Regions from separate parts of the Homo sapiens genome. Here all the other regions are linked to region 4. The links are contacts of gene promoters, found by promoter capture Hi-C in blood cells and fetal thymus (Javierre and others, 2016). All regions are on one chromosome and are shown on one strand. The core of a region is centred on a gene start or on the middle of the fragment in contact, and the rest is flanking DNA. Distances in the headings are between cores, read along the strand shown.

Region 1 (3,214 bases), core at 100-2,599, 790 kb before region 4:
ACAAAAAGTAAACCCCAAAAAAGTAATTTCATATTGCAATAAAGAGTATGCAGGGTGGCAGACAGAGAGAAGCATTGAGTACGAGGGCCTTGAGCTTGATTTGTCCGATTAGGTCTCATCTAGAAGATGAAATTTGAGCTGAGAACTGAAGGGTGAAATAGAGTCAGGCATGTAAGGATTTGGGGCAAGCGCAACCCAGCAAAATAAAATAGCTAGTTCAGAGCTCCCAAAAATATCTAGAGAAGGAGAGAGCAACTTGCAAAGAGAGTTTGACTTGCAAGCTGACATCAAACATCTGAAAGACGTGCTTTGGATGAGCTCAAGAATGTGTAGCCAGGATCAGTAGAGGAAAGCCATGAAGGGTGTGGGTGGCTGAGCTCTCTTCAAGGAAAGGCAGGATTTGCAACCACCAGATCTTCTCAAGAGGCTACTTGAAGAGTCAGCACAGCCAATATCACTGAAAGTGATTCTCACTCTCTTGGTAAGGTAGTGGCCACATGTTTTTTGGCCATTCTCTTTCCCTTGGGGAACAGCCCTCAATTTTCCCTGTGAAGAATTACCTCTCCTCTATTGTGGCAGCCTTGACTTAAACAGTGACACTGGCCGAAGGGTGGTCACACACCTAAGATTGTCCAGATGGACTTTCTTCCCCAAGACTCTCTTCTCTGCAGTGGTTAAGTATGGGGTTGGGAAGACTATGCAAAGCTGACCACCCCCCGTGGTTGTTTCAATGGCAGCCTTATAATTTCTATGTAGAAGGGATGGGGCTGGCAGTCTGTTGAGGGCAGGATTTGGGGGACCACTTTAACCTATCTTCGTATAGCATTTTGCATAAAGGTAAGAAAGCTCAACTTCTCACACAAAGAATTAGGGTAGGATGGAGGGGTTTAAAGTTCCTCCAAATATCCTCAAATATCTCCTTGGAGTCACCACTGGGTGACACCACTGGTCAGTGCCTGTCACCTAGATCCCCAGAATCTTCATGGTTCCTGAGTCGTCCTAGCCTGGTTCTTCAGCTGCCTTTTTATTTCTGGAGACCCCCTTTCAATAACACAAATACCCTTTTTGGTTTAACTTGCCCAGAGTTGGTTTCTATTACTTGTACCACAGAAGGCTGATAGGGGATGGGGACGGACCCAGGCCCTAGATGAGATGAAGGAATTTTTAAAGCCTCTTTCATTGCTGTGGTTTTAAGATAAGCACAAATATAATTAGGCCTCTCTCATAGGAATCAATAGTTATAGATGTACTGGAAAGACAATACTTGGCTCAGTATCTTAAACAGACATGTTGGCTCTACACACTTGCAAACAATGAAATCAAGTATAATTTGCAGCCCTGGGGATATAGTTCCAGAAAGAGGCTCAAAGTACACTTACCAGTGGTATTCAGAAAGCCACGGAAGGGGACTCTGCCAGAACACCATCGTCCGCAGGCTGATGTCAACACATAATAAAACAATAGAGTGAACATTGGGGGAGGGAGGAATCTGTAACATAAAGAAGATAATGGAATCATCAACACTGATCAGCATCAGGAACAAATGGGGCTGGAGGAAACCTGAAGAATTCTTCAGAAAATCTCAAGTAAGTCTGCCAGCAGAAACTAACCATGCCTCACATTTGATTTCCACTGGTATATTTAGTATATTTCATGAAGTTGTGTAATATCTGCCCACCCTGCTTTGAATTTCAGCATAGTTACAGTGATGAAAACTAACAAAAAACAAACAAAAAACCCCCAAGAGATTCTTACTCTGATTTGGGGGTGGGGCCTGGGGGGTACAGTATAGTTCAACATAATTTGTTATAGAAAAAAAAGTTTCTATTGATTCATAATCAACCTTTTCAATGATGATTTTTTTGGGGGATGTGATCTCTCTGGACTTTTTTTTGGGAAAACATTGTTTCCTGCTAGACAAAGAGCAGTCTGTTTTGAACAGTGAAACTGACCTCTCAGCTTTTGAGTTTCTAATAGCAAATTAAATCTACCTCACCAGGAAAAGAAAATTATGAAGAGGTAACTTTTATAATGCAGGAAATAATTGGTGTATTGATCTTTATGAATTTCCTGATTTCTTTACCTTATAATGGTTTTCCTTAATGGCAACACATGCATTAAGAAAACAAAGCACATTTGATGGAAATTCGTTGTCTTCCCCTTTTTAAATTATTTAGTAACATTGGGCAGCTAAGAAATTGTTTCTGCTTCTATAAAACCCCCTATGCTAATTGTGGCCAGCAAATTAGTAATTATAATAGATGATACAAAGCAGGAAAGGGCTAAACTAATGTTAGGGAGTAAAGAATGCAATTAGATGGCTCAGCCTAACGCATCTTCACTCTGAATCTCTGTGAAGAAGGAAGAAAAAAGCTCTGCACCAAAATTAAAGGGGACTCGTTTTCTGATTGTGTCCTAGGGGATTTGGAGAAAGCTCAAGCAATTTGAAGGATACCCTCAGGTTGTACTCAGCAGAATTCCTGACCTCTGCCACATCCTATCTATCATGAGCCTTTATCAGGAGGAGATGGCACATCACAAGCCATTTGGTGGCACGTAATTGCTTCGACATTGACAGCAGAGGGGTATATATCACCTCCTCTGTTAAAAAGAGAGTGAGTGTTTTAAGTGGAAGAAGACTGAATGTAAAGGCAAATTTAAATAAACATTAAAGGGAAGTTAAACCAATACAAAACTGAAATGGATACCAAAATAAAATGAAAGCTTAAATATATGTTGAAGAAAACATTTAATAATGTATGATTTCTAATCATGCCCTTTAGAAATATTGAAGAATCAAGAATAAGAAAAAAAAAAGAATCTTATAGCTTAGAACAGCTTATAAAAGCATGAGACTGGTTTTGGACGGTACATGAAGTATTGTGGTTGGTTTTGTAAACTGCACAGAGAGAAAGGTCTTCTCAGTCTCAATTCTTCTGCTGACATTGAAAGGAAAGTCTCGGGGCTGGTCTGTCTTCAACTCCTCTTCAACACTGCCAAATCTCCCTTTTAAAAAAAGGAGGAAAAAAGAGTAGACTCATGCTCTGAGCCTTTGGCAAACAATCGCTTGAATTTAATTATATTACGTTGTTTTTATTACATTTATTTTTGTGGTTACCTTTATTTATGGCAAGTGAACTGGTTTCCACTTGTGATGGGCCTATGACATTTTTTTCTTTATTTACATTTTAAAAAGCTGAGTCAACTTAAAAAC
Region 2 (3,275 bases), core at 371-2,870, 530 kb before region 4:
CAACAAACAAACAAACAAACAAAAATAGGCATGTAGATCAATGGAGCAGAATAGAGAATCCAGAAATAAAGCCAAACACAGCCAACTGATCTTCAACAAAGCATACGAAAAACAAAAACACAAACTGGGGAAAGAACACCCTATTCAATAAATGGTGCTGGGAAATCTGCCAAGCCATATGTAGAAGAATAAAACTGGAACCTCATCTCTCATCTTATACAAAATTCAACTCAAGATGGATCAACCAGTCTGGCCAACATGGTGAAACTGTGTATCCACTAAAAATATAAAAATTACCTGGGCATGGTGGTGTGTGCCTGTAGTCCTATCTACTTGGGAGGCTGAGGCAGGAGAATCTCTTGAACCTGGGAAGCAGAGGCTGCAGTGAGCCAAGATCACGCCATTGCACTCCAGCCAGACAGAGTGAGACTCTGTTTCAAAAAAAAAAAAAAAAAAAAAGATGGATCGAAGACTTAAATCTAAGACCTGAAACCATAAAAATTCTAGAAGATAACATCAGAAAAACTGTTCTAGATATTGGCTTAGGCTAAGAATTCATGACTAAAACCCCAAAAGCAAATGCAATGAAAACCGAAATAAATAAATGGGTCCTAATTAAACTAAAAAGCTTCTGCACGGCAAAAGAAATAATCAGCAGAGTAAACAGACCACCCATAGCATGGAAAAAAATTTTCCTTTGCATCTGACAAAGGACTAATATTCAGAATCACAAGGAATTCAAACAAATTAGCAAGAAAAAAAACAAATAATTGCATCAAAAAGTGGGCAAGAGACATGAATAGCGAATTCTCAAAAGAAAATATACAAACAGCCACCAAACATATGAAAAAATGCTCGACATCACTAATTATCAGGGAACTGCAAATTAAAACCACAATGAGATACCACCTTACTCATGCAAGAATGGCCATAATTAAAAAGTCAAAAAATAATAGATGTTGGAGTGGACGTGGTGAAAAGGGAACACCTTTACACTGCTGGTGGGAATGTAAATAGTACAACCACTATGGAAAACAGTATGGAGCTTCCTTAAAAAACTAAAAGTAGAACTACCATTTGATCCAGATATCCTGCTACTGGGTATCTACCTAAAGGAAAATAAGTCATTGTATGAAAAAGACACATGCACATGCATGTTTATAGCAGCACAATTTGCAATTGCAAGGATATAAAACCAACCTATGTGCCCATCAACCAACGAGTGGATAAAGAACATGTGGTACATATGTACCATGGAATATTATTCAGTCATAAAAAGGAATAAAATAATCTCTTTTGCAGAAACATGGATGGAGCTGGAAGCCATTATTCTAAGTAGGGTAACTTGGGAATGGAAAATCAAATATTGTATGTTCTCACTTATAAGTGTGAGCTAAGCTATAAGGATGCAAAGGCGTAAGAATGATGTAATGGACTTTGGGGATTCAGGGGGTAAGATTAGGAGAGGGGTGTGGGATAAAAGACTACATATTGGGTACAGTGTACACTGCTTGCGTGATGGATGCACCAAAATCTCATAAATCATCACTAAAGAACTTATCCATGTAAGCAAAAACAACCCATACTCCCAGAACTATTGAAATAAATGACAACAAATGATTCTGCCAATCTGTATCTTCTATGTGGAGTATTATTTAATCCATTTACACTCAAAGTTAGTCTTGATATGGGAAGTTTTTTCTGTTATATTGTGAATTGTTTTCAAGTTGTTTTATAAATTATTTCTCCTATTTCTGTTTTTGACTTTATGATTTGATGAAATTCTATTGTGTTGCCGTTTGAGTCCTTTTTTTTTTTTTTTTTTTTTGAGATGGAGTCTCACTCTGTTACCTAGGCTGGAGTGCAGTGGTGTGATCTTGGCTCACTGCAAACTCTGCCTCCTGGGTATAAGCAATTCTCTTGCCTCAGCCTTCCACGTAGCTGGGATTACAGATGTGTGTCACCACACCTAGCTAATTTTTTTTGTATTTTTAGTAGAGACTGGGTTTCGCCATGTTGGCCAGGCTTATCTTGAACTCCTGACCTCAAGTGATCCGCCCGCCTCAGCCTCCCAAAATTCTGGGATTACAGGTGTGAACCACCATGGCTGGCTGGTTTTTTTTTGTTTTTTTTTTTTTTTGAGATAGGGTCTCATGCTGTCACCCAGGCTGGAGTGCAGTTGTATGATCATGGCTCACTATAGCCTCAACCTCCCAGGCTCAAGCCATCCTTCCACCTCAGCCTCCCAAGTAGCTGGGACTACAGGTGTGTGTCACTATGCCAGGCTAATTTTTTTATTTTTTGTCATGTTGCCTGAGCTGGTCTCAAACTTCTGAGCTCAAGTGATTCACCCACCTTGGCCTCCCAAAGTGCTGAAATTACATGAGTGCACTACTGTGCCTAGCCTAATTCCTTTCACTTCCTCCTTTGTGTGATTGTTTTTATAAGATCTATGAGTTTTATATTTCCATGTGTTTTCATGATGGTGAATATTGACCTTTCATTTTTATGTTTAAGACCCCTTTCAACATTTTGTGTAGGACCAGTCTAGTGGTGACAAATTTCCTTAGCATTTGCTTGTCTGCAGAAGACTTTATTTTTCCTTAATTTATGAAGCTTATTCTGGCAGGATGTAAAATTCTTGACTAATAGGTGTTTTTATTTTTTCCCCAGCACTTTGAAAATACCATCTCATTCTCTTCTAGCCTGTAAAGATTTTACTGAAAAGTCTATTGTTAGTCTGATGTGATTCCCTTTTATAGGTAATTAGCCACTTTTCTCTCACTAATTTTAAAATTCTTTCTTTCACTTTCACTTTAGATATTCTGAATATAATACACTGAGGTAAAGTTCTTTTTTCAAAGGGGATTTGCCTGGGGATTGCTGAGTCTTCTGTATCTGGATGTGTGACTCTCTTGCTCAACTTGGGAAGTTCTCATCAATTACTTCCTTAAATAGGTTTTCTAAACTTTTTTTTTAAATCTCTCTTCTCTCTTTGGAATAGAGATAATTCATAACTTTGGGTCACTTTATGTAGCCCCACTCTCTCAGAGGCTTTGCTCATTCTTTTTTATTCTTTTTCCTTACTTTTGCCTGACTGGATTATTTCAAAAGACATGTCTTTAAGTTCTGAGAGTCTTTCTTCTTTCTTCTGCTTGGTTTATGGTACTGTTGGAGCTTTCTAATGCACTTTGTATTTCTCTCAGTAAATTTTTTATTTTCAGAATTTTTAAAAAATGATATCTGTCTCCTTGGTAAATTTTTCATTCATATAC
Region 3 (3,123 bases), core at 399-2,898, 660 kb before region 4:
TTAAAAAATAGAGTGGGTGAATGAATAATAAATTAACTAGAATATTGAGATAAGGAAAAGTAATATTGAGACTTCTTAGGAAAGTAATTAACACTGTTAACTGTCAGTGTAGAATAACTTCAGGAGTGGCTAATAGGCCTACAGAGAGGGTCTCATCCCTGAGAACCCTCCCCAGTACACAGGGACAAGCTCAGGCAGAACCTGATCCCTTAGGCAGAACTGATTGGTTCAGAGAAGGACATGTGGCCTAAGTGAGGCCAATAAGATTCTATCTCAGGATTTTGGAATTTGGAGCTGAGCAATACAGAAACTAGGAGTCAGAGTCATATGAATGGCAGTGTTCTTGAGAGAAGGTCTATGGATCTAGAATTTATTGTTGAGGATCTTGGACTCACCTTGACTCCTGGTTCAACGACAGGCATAACTGTGTCTGGTACTGTGCTCTTTCTAATACTGCTCTCCTGCTTCCTCTCCTCAACTCCCTTTAGGCTCAAGCTAGCATGTTTAAGTTTCTGTTATTTAAAACCATAAATAATATTTCAAAACAAGTCACTTGAGGTAATATTTATACAGTAGCAAGAAAAAAATTACTACTTTGATGTTTTCAATAAAATTCTACATACTAAATGTAAATTTTCTATAAAATTTATTTAAGTATGAATGATGAAGCTCTGAAAATTCCAGGAGAGATATATGCAGATATCAGGGAAGTAATAATAGCTGTCAATAAAGAGGAAGAACATGAATTTTCCATTTGGTTTTACGGATTACGTGATGCTTATGTTTCTCATTTTGCAAACGGAAGATTGATGGAAACTGTCAAAATCTAGCCCAGGCCCATAGGCTGTTGTCTGAGAACTATTAAACCATAGAGGCTCTGAAACACAGAACGTATTTATCTTTTTGTCTTTTGGCTATTCAATAAACTCATTTTTACAAATGGAATTGAGGTCAGGGGAAATTGATTGCCTCAAGGTCAGGAGGGCAATTTTAGGCAAGGCTGCTTCTAGAACCCTGTCTAATGCTCTTTGGAAATAAACACATTGTTAAAGAAATGTCTCCTGAAGATTGGAAGCATAATGAATAAAACAAGGTAGCCTAGTCATTACAGATAGCTTATTGGTAATCAAAGCTTGCCTTGTTGTGTTGTAAATGTTTAGATTGTAACTGTCTAAACATTTCATTGATATTTTTTGAAGCATGGGAGATATTAATTTATTCACTTATGAGTCACTGTGGATGTAAAAAAACAAATAAATGAAATTACTTCATAATGTTAAATACTACAACATAACAATTTGATGTTCTTTTTTAAGATTTCATAGTGAATGTGATTAGGCAGCAATATATTATGCTAAAATTTTCATCTCAGAAATAGTTTCATTAGCCTAGAATTTGTGGGTTGGGACATTGTAATTATTATTCCATAAGTAAGAAGATACTATCTCTAATGCACAAGACTTTGGATATAAAAGAGAAGCACACATTTTATTGTTCCTATTAAAACTGTGCATGGGACATCTATGGAAGGTCTGTTCCACCCTTTGACTGTGGGAAAATTTCTACTCTATATTCTTCTCTATAAATGATAATGAAATTAAATGAATGTAGATATTCTGCCACCCTGCAATCTTTACTAACTTTGAAGTTTTCATTTTGTTTACTAAATAAAGAAAACTAATATATTAACCACCTGTGTCAAAGAAAAGTAGAATCAGTTTTTTATAATGAGTACATATTATTATTATTATTATTTTGTATTTTTGAGACGGAGTTTCGCTCTTGTTGCCCAGGCTGTAGTGCAATGGCACAATCTTGGCTCACTGCAACCTCTCCCTCCTGGGTTCAAGCTATTCTCCTGCCTCAGCCTCCTGAGTAGCTGGGATTACAGGTGCCTGCCACCACGCCCAGCTAATTTTTTGTATTTTTTGTAGAGATGGGGTTCACCATGTTGGCCAGGCTGGTTTCAAATTCCTGACCTCAGGTGATCCACCCAACTCAGACTCCCAAACTGCTGGGATTACAGGCGTCAGCCACAGCGCCCAGCCGAGTACATGTTATTTTTATAAATGAGAGAAAATGCATTTTACTGTTAGAATAAGTGGAATCAAGTCATGATAATGTTTTTCACTCCTGTTGGTAACTTTTCAGCCCTATATTTAGGTTAAGCTTGCTATATCATATTTATTCATTTATTTTGTTTTGTTTTGTTTGCTGTGTCATATATAGATATGTTTTGTTTTCAAAACGAAAACAAAAAAATGCCTTTTTTTCTCATTGTAAAAGTAATACAGAGATTTCCAGTTCCAAGACAGTTCCAGTTGCACGTCTCCCTATTCTTCTGCTAAGTATAGCTAAAAATCCTGGACAGTATATGTAAAATAAATATAAGGGGACTCTGGAAGGTAGAAATAAGGCAGATTGGCTATTTACCTTAAAAAACATGCTAGCAAATTCCTTGGGATTTCTTTTTGTTTCATATATCCCAGACTACGTACTGGCAATACAGGCAACCTAGAAATGCCAGGGGGTTCATGTAACACTCCCCCATCCCTACCCCAAGCCTGCTGTCTCTAGACAAAGGACCAGGAAAGGAACAGCCTGGTAAGGCAGAAAACATTTAGTTAATAACCACATATGCAGAAAAGTTACCATGGGAGGCCTAAGCCTGCCATCCTTAGAAATTCTTGCTTGCAAGATTGGTCTTTGGCTGGCATCTGGGAACATCCTACAGTTCCTATACAGATATGAAACTTTCCCCAAATGATAAGAATGGCTCACTGAGACTAGACTGTTGGCAAACAATGTAGCTTCTGCTGCACAGCTGCTTTCCTTCTGAGAGTCTGCAGTTTTGATAGGTGCAAGACAGTGGGTATCTACATGATGACATAGTTTGTCTGTGTCCCCATCCAAATCTTATCTTGAATTGTAATTCCCATAATTCCCACATGTCAAGGGAGGGTCCTGGTAGGAGGTGATTGGATCATCGGAGTGGTTTCCCCCATGCTGCTCTCATGATTGTGAGTGAGTTCTCATGAGATCTGATGATTTTCTAAGTGTCTGAATTTCCCCTGCTTGCACATACTCTCCTGCTGCCATGTGAAGAAAGTCTTTGCTTCCCCT
Region 4 (3,406 bases), core at 413-2,912:
GAAGGTGAGAAACCCAAGATGCAGGCTTGTGAACTGGAGTAAAAGAAGGTATCAGGCTTTACTTTTCAATCTCCAGCTGCCACTGCCCATTGCTCTGCCATATATTTGCTAGCCTATGACCTCAGGAATCAACTGACTCTCTCTGAACCACTGTTTCTCATCTCTCAATGAACAATGGTTATGCTTCTCTCAAAGAATTGTAAAGTCTCAAAGAAACTGAGTAAATGCATGGCTATCAGTAAGCGCTCAATTCATGGGAGTCCCTGCCCAGCACCAGTGGCTCAGGCCCCAAAATTAACTACTCAAAAGGCAGCTCCATCTATAACAGTGGTTCCATCCCCTACCTTGCCCCGGGGGAAAAGTATGACACAGTAGCTGAGTACCCAACTTTGGGAGAGACCCCACAGTTGAGTTCAGTTCCCAGCAGCTCTCCTCCATGCCTTTGTGAACTTGGGCGAACAGCTAAACTTCCCCATAATTTGGTGTCTCATCCATGAAATAGAAATGGTGAAGAGTGTATTCTTTCTCTCATGAGAGTCATGAGAAAATGCAAAAAGAACTCAGCACACTGTCTAGGACAAAATAAATGTTGGATAAATGTGAACTAACATAAAGTTCTTTGGCTTTTTCTTTCTTTCTTTCTTGGCCCATACTTTCTCTTCTAAGTACCATTCACCCACCTTTGGGAGTGCGTCCCTGTGACTGAATGTCCAACATGGATATCAGACAGAAAGGAAAAAACTCAACAAATAACCAAGATCCTCTACGTCCCTTCCCCAGGTCTCTGACCTCCCTCACCCCCACTCCCAGATAGCCAGCTAGCTTCCTCCCTCAATTCCCTTCATGTTTCCTCAAATATCACTTCAGTGACATCCCAAGCACCCACTTAACATTTCAAATCCACCCCACAAACACCCCACTGCATTTCCCCCTCCTTACTTTATTTTCAGCCTAACACCTGTCATCACATTACACACCTCATCATTTGCTTATTTAGTATACTGTCTGTCTTCTGTCGGGAGAAGCTACGCTCCTATAGGGCAGGAGTCCGTCTATTTTGTTCAGTTGCTATGTTCACAGCGCCCAGAGCCAGGGCAGAGAGTGGAGACTCCGTAAGAATCGGCTGAATAAATGAGTGAATGCCTGAGCGAATGAAAGGATGAAGAGAAGCCAGATTTTACTGGGGCCAAAGAGTTTGCACGGGGCGAGGGGAGCCAGATGAAGGATGAGGGCTGGCCTCAGATCCGACTCAAGTCCCTCCCACCTGCCCAATCCTAGAATTCTCTTTCCCTCTTTTAGGTGCTGGACAAGTTGCATATCCCGTTAAATCCGGGGCCCACTCCGGGAGCCCCCTATTAAAGGTAAGCAGCCCCCAACCCACCTTTGACACGGAAGAGTGACTAGCGGGGAAAATAACCCCAGCGGGCCGCCTAGGGGTGGGTGACCCGCGATCTCCACGCCCAGGTCCCGCCCTCGCGGCCCCTGCCCCCGCCCCGCCCCCCGCAGAGGGCGCGCCCTGGGAGCGGCGGGGGACGCGGCTGGCTTCCCGGCTTGCGGGGTGGCGGCGTCGGGGCTGCGGGCGCCTTGGCTGGACCCGCATTGCCCCCTAGTGCCGCGCGGAGTCAGGGCGCCGGGCTCCCCCGCCTGATGTCACCGCCGTGCAGTCAGCCCAGAAGCGGCTCATTGAAAGCAGACCCTCTTCGGCGCTCGCTGGGCGGAGGACGCGCCGCGGTCCGCAGACCCGAGCGAGCTGGGCACCGCCGGGCGCCCCCGGCCCTGCCGCCCCCTCCTCCCCGCCGCTCCCCCGCGAGCCCGGCCAGGCGCGCCTGACGTGGACCATTAAACTTGGAGCTGCCGCCTCGTCCCCTCTCCTCCTCCTCCTCCCTCTGACAGGCGAGCGAGCGACTCGGTGCAGGCAGGAGACGTGCTGCCGGGCTGGGCTGCCCGGGGGAGATGACTCCTCGCCAGGAGGGCGCCTCTGGGAAGAAGACCACGGGGGAAGCAAAGTTTCAGGGCAGCTGAGGAGCCTTCGCCGCAGCCCTTCCGAGCCCAATCATCCCCCTGGCTATGGAGGGCGGACTCTAAGATGAATCCCGACCTGGACACCGGCCACAACACATCAGCACCTGCCCACTGGGGAGAGTTGAAAAATGCCAACTTCACTGGCCCCAACCAGACCTCGAGCAACTCCACACTGCCCCAGCTGGACATCACCAGGGCCATCTCTGTGGGCCTGGTGCTGGGCGCCTTCATCCTCTTTGCCATCGTGGGCAACATCCTAGTCATCTTGTCTGTGGCCTGCAACCGGCACCTGCGGACGCCCACCAACTACTTCATTGTCAACCTGGCCATGGCCGACCTGCTGTTGAGCTTCACCGTCCTGCCCTTCTCAGCGGCCCTAGAGGTGCTCGGCTACTGGGTGCTGGGGCGGATCTTCTGTGACATCTGGGCAGCCGTGGATGTCCTGTGCTGCACAGCGTCCATTCTGAGCCTGTGCGCCATCTCCATCGATCGCTACATCGGGGTGCGCTACTCTCTGCAGTATCCCACGCTGGTCACCCGGAGGAAGGCCATCTTGGCGCTGCTCAGTGTCTGGGTCTTGTCCACCGTCATCTCCATCGGGCCTCTCCTTGGGTGGAAGGAGCCGGCACCCAACGATGACAAGGAGTGCGGGGTCACCGAAGAACCCTTCTATGCCCTCTTCTCCTCTCTGGGCTCCTTCTACATCCCTCTGGCGGTCATTCTAGTCATGTACTGCCGTGTCTATATAGTGGCCAAGAGAACCACCAAGAACCTAGAGGCAGGAGTCATGAAGGAGATGTCCAACTCCAAGGAGCTGACCCTGAGGATCCATTCCAAGAACTTTCACGAGGACACCCTTAGCAGTACCAAGGCCAAGGGCCACAACCCCAGGAGTTCCATAGCTGTCAAACTTTTTAAGTTCTCCAGGGAAAAGAAAGCAGCTAAGACGTTGGGCATTGTGGTCGGTATGTTCATCTTGTGCTGGCTACCCTTCTTCATCGCTCTACCGCTTGGTAAGTTGGGGACTAGCAGCAGGGGGACTGGGCATTTTTGGACCTTGGGTTTACTGATGAGCTTACTCTAAAGTTTTTTGTGGGTTTTGTTTCTTATGCAGTCTGTGCGTGTTCGGAGATTGAATAATATTGTTTGTTCTGCAAAGGGTTTGCAGATTGGGGAGCTGGCTAAAAACCAACTCAGGTGTTAGTAGAACACGCTAAGGCACTAGCTTCTGGAAATAGAACCAGGGAAGGAAAATCTGGTATGAGGAATGACTCACTCAACAGCCTCGGTTTAATAATTAAAAAGGATATTCACTGGGCTTGAATATCACACCGGCGTTATTTCAGTAGTAATGATGTGTCGGCTAAGGCAGCGTCACTAATGC
Region 5 (3,093 bases), core at 309-2,808, 760 kb before region 4:
CCACACCTGGCTAATTTTTGTATTTTTACTAGAGACGGGGTTTCACCATGTTGGTCAGGCTGGTCTTGAACTCCTGACCTCAGGTGATCCACCCGCCTCAGCCTCCCTAAGTGCTAGGATTACAGGCGTGAGGCACTGTGCCCGGCCGGCATTGTATTTTTCACAAGCTTCCCAACCTGCTTCCAACGCCCATCAAAGGTTGAGAAACACTGCTCATGGAACAACTTGGTGATACCAAAATGCAAAATTCTAGCATAGATCCAAATTGAAAATATCTTCAAATAAAACACTTGCTCATTGATTTTTTTTTTCTTTTACTGCACTCCGGTCATTAAAGAAAAACAAACAGGTTCTATACTTCCATAAATGAATGTCAAATTTATACACATTGCTTCTGGTTTTTAATCTTTTCACTTTAATCAATACCGAATATCTGCACTATACATATTCATATAGGATTTGACTGTGATTAAATGAGATGTCGAATTTGCCCAGTGTTCACTTACGGCATCCTCTAAGCAAACGGAAGAGTCTGATGACAGCAATCTAATTTGCTAGAGCAAGCTGTGGTGGAGACGACAGGGGTGAATTAGAAACTCAGCCCATCCCAGCTTATGCGGACTGTTGCCAAGCAAGGATGAGTGGCCTATGCAGCCAGCACTTCCAATTTTTCACAAGAAAATAGAAATTGAGTTTGTCATATACAATCTTGCAATTTTTAAATGGTTGGCAACTGATTCAAATATTTTTTAAAATATCATTTAAAAATGTACCATTGAGGCTGGGCATGGTGGCTCATGCCTGTAATTCCAACACTTTGGGAAGCCGAGGCGGGTGGATCACTTGAGGCCAGGAGTTCGAGACCAGTCTGGCCAACCTGGTGAAACTCTGTCTCTATTAAAATACAAAAATTAGCTAGGTGTGGTGGCACATGTCTGTAATCCCAGCTACTCGGGAGACTGAGGCAGGAGAATCACTTGAACCCGGGAAACGGAGGTTGCAGTGAGCTGAGATTGTGACATTGCACTCCAGCCTGGGTGACAGAGCAAGACTCCATCTCAAAAAAATAAATAAAATAAAATAAATCTATCACTGAGGCCTAACAACAAAGCAAAATTTATCAGCCCAGATTTCCCCCAGAAGGCCCCAAATTTGTAATTTCTGCTCTAGAAACTGAGTTCAGGATCTGATCAGTTAAGACGATCAAAACCCACTCACAGAAATTACTTCATTTAGTTGCCATGCAATATTATGCTCTCTGCCTCTGGAAAGAATAGAATTCTCTGCCATTTTTAAACTACAGGGTGGATATGAGGAGCCACCTGCTAAGTTCCTTTGTTCATTCTGTAGATATTTAGAGTGCTCCTGCCCTATACCAGACACTGGGAACACAGTGGTGAACCGAATCTTAGGTAAGTTTAATATGTAGCACAGCATATTAAAAAAAAAAATGAAGCATCTGTCTCTAGTTTAAAACTGTTCAAAAATATGAAGCTCATTACTCAGTCAGTGGTGAGGATTAAAAATACAGATGGGCAAAACCTGAAACAGAATGACACTTCAGTGATGATTTTTTTTCAGATGAGGCTGATGCCCAGAAAAACAAAGGCTAATCAAAGATCACAGAGGACTTAGAATTATAATCCAGAGCTCCTGCCCTTAGTGCAAGCCCCTTTTATCCCTCTGTGCTGTCCATTTCCCTAAATCCAAGAGGACTGATAAAGGATTGTCACAGTACTAATTTTGATGGCAAAGTGCATAAGGTGACAGACCTTATTACAAAGTTTTTAAGGGAATATTGATGCGTGAAAATAGGTATGCACTGTCTGAAAACACTGGAAACCATTAAGTAGACAAGAAAAGTGACCTAAAAAGGACTCATAAGGGAACTGATGATTCTCTCAATTTGATCAAGCATAATAGAAGAGGAACTGAATCTAATTTTCTCATCTTCTCTTCAGTAGAACAAACCAGGTGGTTAAACTTTGTCTTCTTCCTAAGTCAAAAACTCTGCAGTGAGTTGGAAGCTATTACAAAATGGCTAGATTTTGAATACGGATGGCATTATACAATGCTACTGTCCAGTATGTAAGGACAAATAACAAATTAAGTCAGAGGTATATTTGGAACCATTCACAGGTGTGCTCCCAAATTTCAAATAATCTGTAAAATGAAGTTGCTCCACCAGAGTGCTGGTCACTGATATGCTCTCTTTCTAGGACGTGGAAGACAACTTCTGTGCTGTTGTGGCTGGTGGGGCCATATCAGTAGTTCCGGCCAAGGGAGTGAGTGGAAGTGACATGTCCATACCAGGGAGGAACGTGTAATTGCTGGTGTACAGCCTTGCAGTCTTCCCTTTGGCATGACCATCCAGAAAGTTCAATAGTGTCTGCACCAAACAGGATAGTGTCTGCACCAAACAGGATATCCTTGTAATGTACGTGCATGACATAAATCTTTGTGGTTTTAAAGCCACTATAATTTTGAGGTTTTCTGTTACAACCACATAATATATTCCTCCTGACACACAGTGACATTTGTCCAAAAGGCTACTAACACACTCATCTGATTTGGCATGTACAGCTGGGATCTATTTGCTATTAAGAAGTAAAAAGTGTATTATAATGTGGAAAGTAATTCCAAAGAACTCTACTTTTATTAAAATCCCAGATCATTACTGCTAGGTCTTTGGATAAGCAGCCTTCCTACCACTAGAGGGAGCTATCTGCTTTGTCTTCTGCCTAACACGGAGCACCAAAAAGATGATAAACTTCCAGCTACACCTGGGGAGAAATGAATTCTAGCCTAGATACTTTCCCCCCGCCAACAAGTCATACTGCCTTAGTGCTAGGCTAGCTGGATAGAAGCTCTGAAATGCTCAGGCACCCCAAAAGGCTGATTCAATCTGAATCAGAAGTAAGGTTCAGAAATGTGTACTTTTTTAAAATAAAAAGCTTCCCAAACACTTCTGAAGCACAGGTAAGTTTGCTAACACTGGGTGTAGAAGATTTCAAAAGAAATGGTCCTTTTCAATCAAAGAGTTTTGCCATCTACAGGGCATTTCTGACAAGGATCAACATGTAAGTCCAACTA
Region 6 (3,548 bases), core at 612-3,111, 600 kb before region 4:
CCCTCTTCACCAAACCCCAGAGCCACTGGCGGAATGTTCAGTTCCTTGGAATCCCACATGCCCGGGTTAGCTCCTTTTGCAAGCAGCCTGATGGATAGAAGTGAAGGGATGGTGCTCCTTATGAAAGGAGACGGGGGAGCTTAGTGAGCAGCGGCAGGGCCCTGCAGCCCGTCACACGCTAGCATCCACCGGGTTGAGTGGCTGCGCACGACCGCGGCGGGCGGGCGGGCGCGCTGCCGGAACGCTCTAGGCCTCCTGCGGAACCCAGGCCTGCGTGAAGGTAAATGCAAATCAGCTCCGCCCAGCGCTTCCCGCAGAAGGAGGGTTTTCTGTGTGCGCGTCTGGTTTCCTCCGCCTTCAGCCAGAATGCTGGCTTTATTTTTGCGGTTTATGAGCTTGAGACAGGGAATTCATTTCCTTGGTATAATATGACCCTCTGGAGAAAGTCTTGTCCAGATATATTTTGCTCCCAAACGCCGCCCTAGAAGAAGGACTACACTGAAATGAAACGGAGATGATTAAAGTCTGATTTATAGGTAAGGTGAATTGGTAGGATTATGCCAAATTCATTACATCCAGAGAAGGTGAAAGGGAATGAAAGGGCTCCTCCCGGGAGATGGAAACCTTTGTAAAAATAAATATTTATGGTGCACATACCTTTAACTCAGCTAGTAGCCAGGTTATATTTTATTATATTCACCACCATTTCCCTTTTCTGTTTCTCACCAGGCTGTACAAGCCCTGAAAGCAAGAACGGGGTTCACGGCATCTTGATACCCCCATGTGGGGACGTTTTGGCGATTTTATTTACAAGAAAGGGATTTTACACCGGAGAGGCTTTTAAATATGCTAACAGACTGGACCAGCTTTCTCATCCCCACTGGCTGATTAATGATTCCTCCATGCCAACCCGGTTCTCAGAGACACCAAGGCCAGGTAAAAACCACCCCTTCATCCCCTAAACCTTGCAAGAAGCACAGGGTCCAGAATTATGCTTCTTTCAGGTTCTAAATAGCACAATAAAACTAATAACAATAAGCTTTTAGTTATTAGATCAGGTACATTTTACTTTACAGTAAGCTTTTACTTATTGGATCAGGTACATTTTAAAGCAATTTTTGAACATTATTTCATTTGATCCTCACAACCACACTATGAGGTAGGTACTATCATTCCATTTGAAGGATGAGAAAACTGAGGCTCGAAGATGTTAAATAACTTGTTCAAGATCACAGCTAGTCAGTGGACATAGCTGCCATTCACTGAGTGCTTCCTGTGAGCCAGGCACGGTGACCATCACATTAAACCAATTATTTATTTCATGCAATAGTGCCCTTGATCCTTAGGAAGTGGCCTCCAGTGCTTAGAATTCCAAGCATTTGGTCCTCTGGAGATGAGAAACCATGGGAAGGCAGGGGCTCACTCACCCCTGTATCCAAAAAGTTGAGGATGGTGCCAAGGACAGAGACGGTACCAGGGACTCCAAAAATACTGAATGAAAGGACAGTAGAGGTGCTTTCCTGTGGGATCCCCAATCTCTCCCCGCCTTCAGGTGAGTCCTGCTGATGCTCAGGCTGCCCTTGGAACAGGGACCTTGGCCATAGTTTCCTTATCTGTAATAATGGGATGAGAATTCCTCCTGCACAGGGTTGTTAGGGACCTCGTGAGGCAGCTTCTATGGCTGCCTTTGGTGCTTAGTTTTCTCACTTTCTTCTTGAACATGGGAGTGGGGAGACGGACTCCTAAGGGTATGACACTTGAAGATTTCAGGAGGGGGCCTGCAGGTTTATGTCCTCACTTGTTTTACACCTCACAGAGGTCAGCGAAGCAGGGTATCACCAAAGCCCCACCTGATGTCTCTGGAAATCGAGTACTCCGTGTCTTCACCAGGCCCATGCCAGCTGTGAGGGGCAGAACCAGGTTTTCTGACACCAAACCCCAGGTTTCTTCCTGTGCTGGCATGGGTCCTTTTTCTGACTTGGCCAGCAGCCTCTCATAGATGGGGGTCTGATTAAATAGTTCTGGTGATGGGTGGAGTGATGGTTGCACAACAATATGAATGTATTTAATGCCACTGAACTGTACACCTGAAAATGGTTAAAATGTTACATTTTATGTTATGAATATTTCACCACAATAAAAAAAAGAAACAAATATGGATCTGTCTCTCTCACATGTCAAGAAATCTGGGGTAGGTAGATACAGTGGTTGGTTCAGCTGCTCCATGATGCCATGAGGATCTGGAGTCTGGCTTTTTTCTTTTCTTTTCTTTTTCTTTTTCTTTCTTTTTTTTTTTTTTGAGACAAAGTCTCACTCTGTTGCCCAGGCTGGAGTGCAATTGTGTGATCTCTGCTTACTGCAAACTCTGCCTCCTAAGTTCAAGTGATTCTCCTGCCTCAGCCTCCCAAGTAGCTGGGATTATAGGAGTGTACCACCATGCCCAGCTAATGTTTGTACTTTTTTGGTAGAGACGGGGTTTCACCATGTTGACCAGGCTGGTCTTGAACTCCTGACCTTAGGTGATCTGCCCACCTCAGTCTCCCAAAGTGCTGGGATTACAGGCATGAGCCACAGCGCCTAGCCTGAAGTCTCTAGCTTGAGTTTTTGCATGATGGCTTTCATACTGGGCACAAGGTGTCCTCTGAAGCTTCTCGAGATTTTTTTCTGCTCAAGAGAGGAGGATGGAAGGAAAGGGTGATGCTAGACATGGCTCTGTCTTTCATCAGAAAAGCCAAAGCTTCTCAGCAACCCTCCCAGCAGAATTTTCTTATATCTCATTGGCCAGAACTCAGTGTTTTGGCTTTGCTGGGCAACAAAGGTGGCTGAAAAAGTGGTCGCTAAACTTACCAACATTTAGAGCTGAAGAGGGCATCGGGGAGAAAACAGTTGGGAATGAGTATTGATTGGAAAACCAGCAGGCTGTTTCCAACACCCTGCTCAAGGTCACAAGTCTGTTATGTAACCATAGTTGGGACTGGAGTCTGCTCCTCTGATTCCCAGTCCTAAGATCTTTGGCTTAGACATTTAGTACATTTTGTAGTGGCTAGATTTACAATAAAAAGGACAGTCCTGGAGACTATCTTTAAAGAAGAAAAACTCTGCATTGCATGCACTGAAATTAATCGAATGCTAAGAGGTCATGTCGCAAAAGCACTGGGCATGGTGGGAGCCAGAACATCTCACCTCTGCCCCAGGCTGGCCAGAAATTTGGGGAAAGGTCCCAGTTCTCAGTGCTTATGAAATGTGATTAGTTATTTATTTTTTAAAAATCTGGTTAGTGTTGTTCATTAAATGTCCGTTAAGTACTTTGGTAACTGCAGATGAAAGACCCTGTAGGGGGACAAACACTTGTTATTAACAACCATATGCTGTCAAGTGTGGGCTTATAACACGGGACCATATGCTCCAAAGGTTGGCAAAGAATGACAGAAGCCACCCACCATTCCTCCAGGCCAGGAGCAGAGTGGCATAGGGCTCCAGGGGACACTGAAAATCAGGAATGTAAACAAACACCCCTATTATAATTACCCTGCCATTGCAAGGAAGCC
Region 7 (3,511 bases), core at 699-3,198, 550 kb before region 4:
TAGCCGGGCGTGGTGGCAGGCACCTGTGGTCCCAGCTACTTCGGAGGCTGAGGCAGAATGGCGTGAACCCGGGAGGTGGAAGTTGCACTGAGTCAAGATCACGCCACTGCACTCCAGCCTGGGTGACAGAGCAAGACTCCGTCTCAAAAAAAAAAAAAAAAAAAATCTCAGAAATCCCCACTAAAGAATGGATCCATGTAATCAAAAACTATCTGTACCCCCAAAACTATTGAAATAAAAAAAAAATGAATGTGACACAGTCCTATATGTATTTGGCAACTAGCCCCAAGTTGGGTTGGGCTTTAAGCTTTCTTGTTGTCAGTGCAAATAGAGAAACTCAACCAACTACAGTTTTGCAATATCCACGAGACAAATGTTTAGGAAAAGTACAACTACATCTAACACTATGTCCAGAAACAATGTGTCCCTGGGTTCTTACAAAGAGAGCACTGTATTATAAAATACAGAAGGCCTGAAGATCCTCCTTCCAGGAGACCCAAGGATGAGGTTCACAGGCCTGGTTCTTATAGGTGGAAGCATTATTTCTCAAATTTCAATTGTCTTTATTATTTCTGCCATATATACTTACTAAATTTTAGAAATTATTATTATTATCATTATTATTATTTTTTGAGAGGGAATCTCACTCTGTCACCCAGACTGGACTGCAGTGGCATGATTTCAGCTCCCTGCAAGCTCTACCTCCTGGGTTCAAGTGATTCTTTTGCCTCAGCCTCCCACATAGCTGGGATTACAGGTGGGCGCCACCACACCCAGCTAATTTTTTATATTTTTTTGGTAGAAACGGGATTTCACCATGTTGGTCAGGCTGGTCCCAAACTCCTGACGTCAAGTGATCCGACCGCCTCGGCCTCCCAAAGTGCTGGGATTACAGTCATGAGCCCCTGTGCCCAGCTAGAAATTATTAACCTAATTTTTTTTAACGTAGATTTTATTTTGACTCAGTTTTAAACTTAATCTTAGCAAGGTAGAAAAGCTAGTTATGTTTTTTTCTAGTATCGTTTAAGTCAAGTTTATAAGGATTAAAATTAAAAAGTCTATTTTAATCTAAAATTTTCTTATGTACCATTAATAGTTTGTAGGCCACACCTTGGGAAACACTGACTTAAGGAAAAGGAAAAATCCAGTATTTGGATATCCATGACCTCATTGCATTTTAATATTTCTCGAGAGGTGTCATCTTAATATTTCCTGAGAGGTATTATTATCACCAACAGAGGTGGGGAAACAGGTTAAAGAACTTTTGTAAGGTTCCACAATAACTGAGCAGAGATGAAACTCAAGTCTTTTGATGAAAATCAAGTTCTGGCTTCTAGATGGGTGTAGAGAAGGCCTTTTTCCCAAACTGAAGTTCAGACTCTCTTTGACTGTTTACCCCTTTGCTTCCTGCCAGAATGCCCCACCCCACTTAGTCCATAGTGATGCCCACCTGTGGTTAATGGAGCTGAGGCTGCTGGACCAAAGGGAGGAAGTCTGTTAGGCATATGTGGAACCCAAAAGAGGAACTTCATCAACTGTCATGGACAGCTCTGCCACTTTGTGACCCTGTGGACTTTTTGGGAAGTGTTTTTGTGGTTCACCAGTCTCTCATTAGGCAAGGCCATTTGTCCTGGGTTGGTCTTCTTCATTGGTGGAAAGTACAGCTGGGAGATTTGGAATGGTTGCAGATTGACTTGACTCTCATAAGGAACTGCCACCATGAGCTTTTGGGGAAAGACCTCAAGCTGTGGTGTGTTGCTGAGGATTGTGGGATTCCTCCAAATCTTGGGGAACATTTTGAGTCATCACTGGCAGCAGATTTCTGTTGACAACTTGAGCAACTTCAGAATGAAGAAGCCATCTTCATCTCTCACATGAATATGACTTTGGGTAAATCATCTCGAAATCTGAACCCATGGTTGTGATCCACACTCCTCCTGAGTTCTGATTTTTAGTGTAACCTTTTTCTTCTCATTTTTTCTTCTTTGTGCATCTCTTAAGGAGGTTTTTAAAATCTCATAATTAAAAAATTTATTTCTTCAAAACTTTTTATTTTGAAATCACTGTAAATTCACATACATTTGTATAAAATGCCACAGAAAAATCCTGTGTGCCTTTTACTCAGTTTATTCTAATGATAACATCCTTAAAGAGATTTAAAAATTACTGAGATATAATTGAAATATGAGAAAATTCACTCTTTTATGCATTTAAATATCCTTTATGTTTTTTCATAGCTTATTAGCTCATTTCTTTTCAGTGCTGAATAATTCTTAATTGTCTGGATATACCATAGCTTATTTATCCATTCACGTATTGAAGGATGTTCTAGTTGCTTTTAAGTTTTGGCAATTATGAATAAAGCTGCTGTATACATTCATGTTTAGGTTTTTGTGTAGATATAAATTTTCAAGCTCTTTGGGTAAATATTCCAAGAGCACTTGCCGAGTTGAATGGTAAGAAACTACCCAACTGTCTTCTAAAGTAGTATACCGTTTTGCATTCCCACCAACAATGAATGGGAGTTCCTGTTTCTCCACATTTTTGTCAATATTTGGTGGTGCCTGTGTTTTGGTGCCATTCTAATAGGTATGTAGTGGTATCTCATTGTTTTATTATTCATATATATTCATTGGGTAAAGTGCAATTTTGCTGTTGACATATTGCACTGTGGTGAAGTCAGGGCCTTCAGTGCATCATTTATCACTAGAGCAAGGCACATTGTACCCACCAAGCAACCTACCATCACCCACCAACCTTCTATCCTTCTGAGTCTCCATTGTTCATTATCCCAGACTCCACATTCTGCTTTGTGTGTACACATTATTTAGTTTCCTCTTATAAGTGAGAACATGAGGAACATGTCTTTTTGTATATGGGTTGTTTCATGTCAGAAAATGGCCCCCAGTTCTATCCATGTTTCTGCACAAGATATAATTTCATTCTTTTTATGGTTGAATAGTATTCCATTGTGTATATACCCCACATTTTCTTTATCCAGTCCTCCATTGATGAACACTTAGATTGATTCCGTATCTTTGCTATTGTGAGTAATGCTGTGATAAACATATGAGTGCAGATATCTCTTTGATATAGTGATTTCTTATCCTTTGGGTAGATACTCAGCTGGGTAGGACTGCTGGATTGTATAGTGGTTCTATTTTTAGTTCCTTGAGAAATCTTCATACTGTTTTCCATAGAGGTTGTCCTAGTTTACATTCCCACCAACAGTGTGTAAGAGTTCCCTTTTCTCCAAATCCTCTCCAACATCTGTTATTTTTTTATCTTTTTAGTAATAGTCATTCTGATTGGTGTAAGATGATATTTCATTGTGGTTTTAATTTACATTTCTCTGATAATTAGTAATGTGTAACTTTTTTCATATACACGTTGGCTATTTGTTTATCTTGTTTTGAAAAATGTCTATTCATGTCTTTAGCCCACTTTTTAATGGGATTATTTTTTGTTGTTGAGTTGAGTTCCTTGTAAATTCTGGATATTAGTCCCCTCT

What was found. The method cuts DNA at HindIII sites, captures the fragments that hold promoters and counts their contacts. A CHiCAGO score of 5 or more calls a contact.
Region 1: a contact is called between a fragment that was not itself captured here and the fragment with the promoter of ADRA1B in region 4, in 1 of 17 cell types (M0 macrophages). The highest score is 5.2, in M0 macrophages.
Region 2: a contact is called between a fragment that was not itself captured here and the fragment with the promoter of ADRA1B in region 4, in 3 of 17 cell types (M2 macrophages, naive B cells and total B cells). The highest score is 6.5, in M2 macrophages.
Region 3: a contact is called between a fragment that was not itself captured here and the fragment with the promoter of ADRA1B in region 4, in 1 of 17 cell types (naive B cells). The highest score is 5.2, in naive B cells.
Region 5: a contact is called between a fragment that was not itself captured here and the fragment with the promoter of ADRA1B in region 4, in 14 of 17 cell types (M2 macrophages, naive B cells, megakaryocytes and 11 more). The highest score is 13.4, in M2 macrophages.
Region 6: a contact is called between a fragment that was not itself captured here and the fragment with the promoter of ADRA1B in region 4, in 6 of 17 cell types (megakaryocytes, total B cells, M1 macrophages and 3 more). The highest score is 12.3, in megakaryocytes.
Region 7: a contact is called between a fragment that was not itself captured here and the fragment with the promoter of ADRA1B in region 4, in 5 of 17 cell types (M2 macrophages, M0 macrophages, megakaryocytes and 2 more). The highest score is 7.0, in M2 macrophages.

What each region holds. Positions count from the first base shown.
Region 1 is chr5:159,129,682-159,132,895 of GRCh38, forward strand. No RefSeq gene overlaps it. Among named protein-coding and RNA genes, the nearest start is that of LINC02202, 31 kb to the left of the region's middle. The HindIII fragment of the contact is 2,746 bases long and covers 1-2,722 here.
Region 2 is chr5:159,383,350-159,386,624 of GRCh38, forward strand. No RefSeq gene overlaps it. Among named protein-coding and RNA genes, the nearest start is that of IL12B-AS1, 53 kb to the left of the region's middle. The HindIII fragment of the contact is 1,988 bases long and covers 627-2,614 here.
Region 3 is chr5:159,252,159-159,255,281 of GRCh38, forward strand. No RefSeq gene overlaps it. Among named protein-coding and RNA genes, the nearest start is that of UBLCP1, 9.6 kb to the right of the region's middle. The HindIII fragment of the contact is 1,037 bases long and covers 1,131-2,167 here.
Region 4 is chr5:159,914,820-159,918,225 of GRCh38, forward strand. It overlaps ADRA1B (adrenoceptor alpha 1B), which reads left to right and starts at 1,663. Exons shown (of 2, transcript NM_000679.4): 1 at 1,663-3,035. The coding sequence starts at 2,087. RefSeq lists a silencer at 1,497-1,556 and enhancers at 1,620-2,236, 2,237-2,853. The HindIII fragment of the contact is 3,740 bases long and covers 1-3,406 here.
Region 5 is chr5:159,154,235-159,157,327 of GRCh38, forward strand. No RefSeq gene overlaps it. Among named protein-coding and RNA genes, the nearest start is that of RNF145, 54 kb to the right of the region's middle. RefSeq lists an enhancer at 2,853-2,982. The HindIII fragment of the contact is 2,787 bases long and covers 166-2,952 here.
Region 6 is chr5:159,310,479-159,314,026 of GRCh38, forward strand. It overlaps LOC105377683 (a long non-coding RNA gene), which reads left to right and starts at 344. Exons shown (of 3, transcript XR_941138.3): 1 at 344-536; 2 at 730-936. The HindIII fragment of the contact is 1,567 bases long and covers 1,079-2,645 here.
Region 7 is chr5:159,360,794-159,364,304 of GRCh38, forward strand. IL12B-AS1 (IL12B antisense RNA 1) reads left to right here. Exons shown (of 5, transcript NR_037889.1): 5 at 1,415-2,041. Among named protein-coding and RNA genes, the nearest start is that of IL12B-AS1, 31 kb to the left of the region's middle. The HindIII fragment of the contact is 3,286 bases long and covers 306-3,511 here.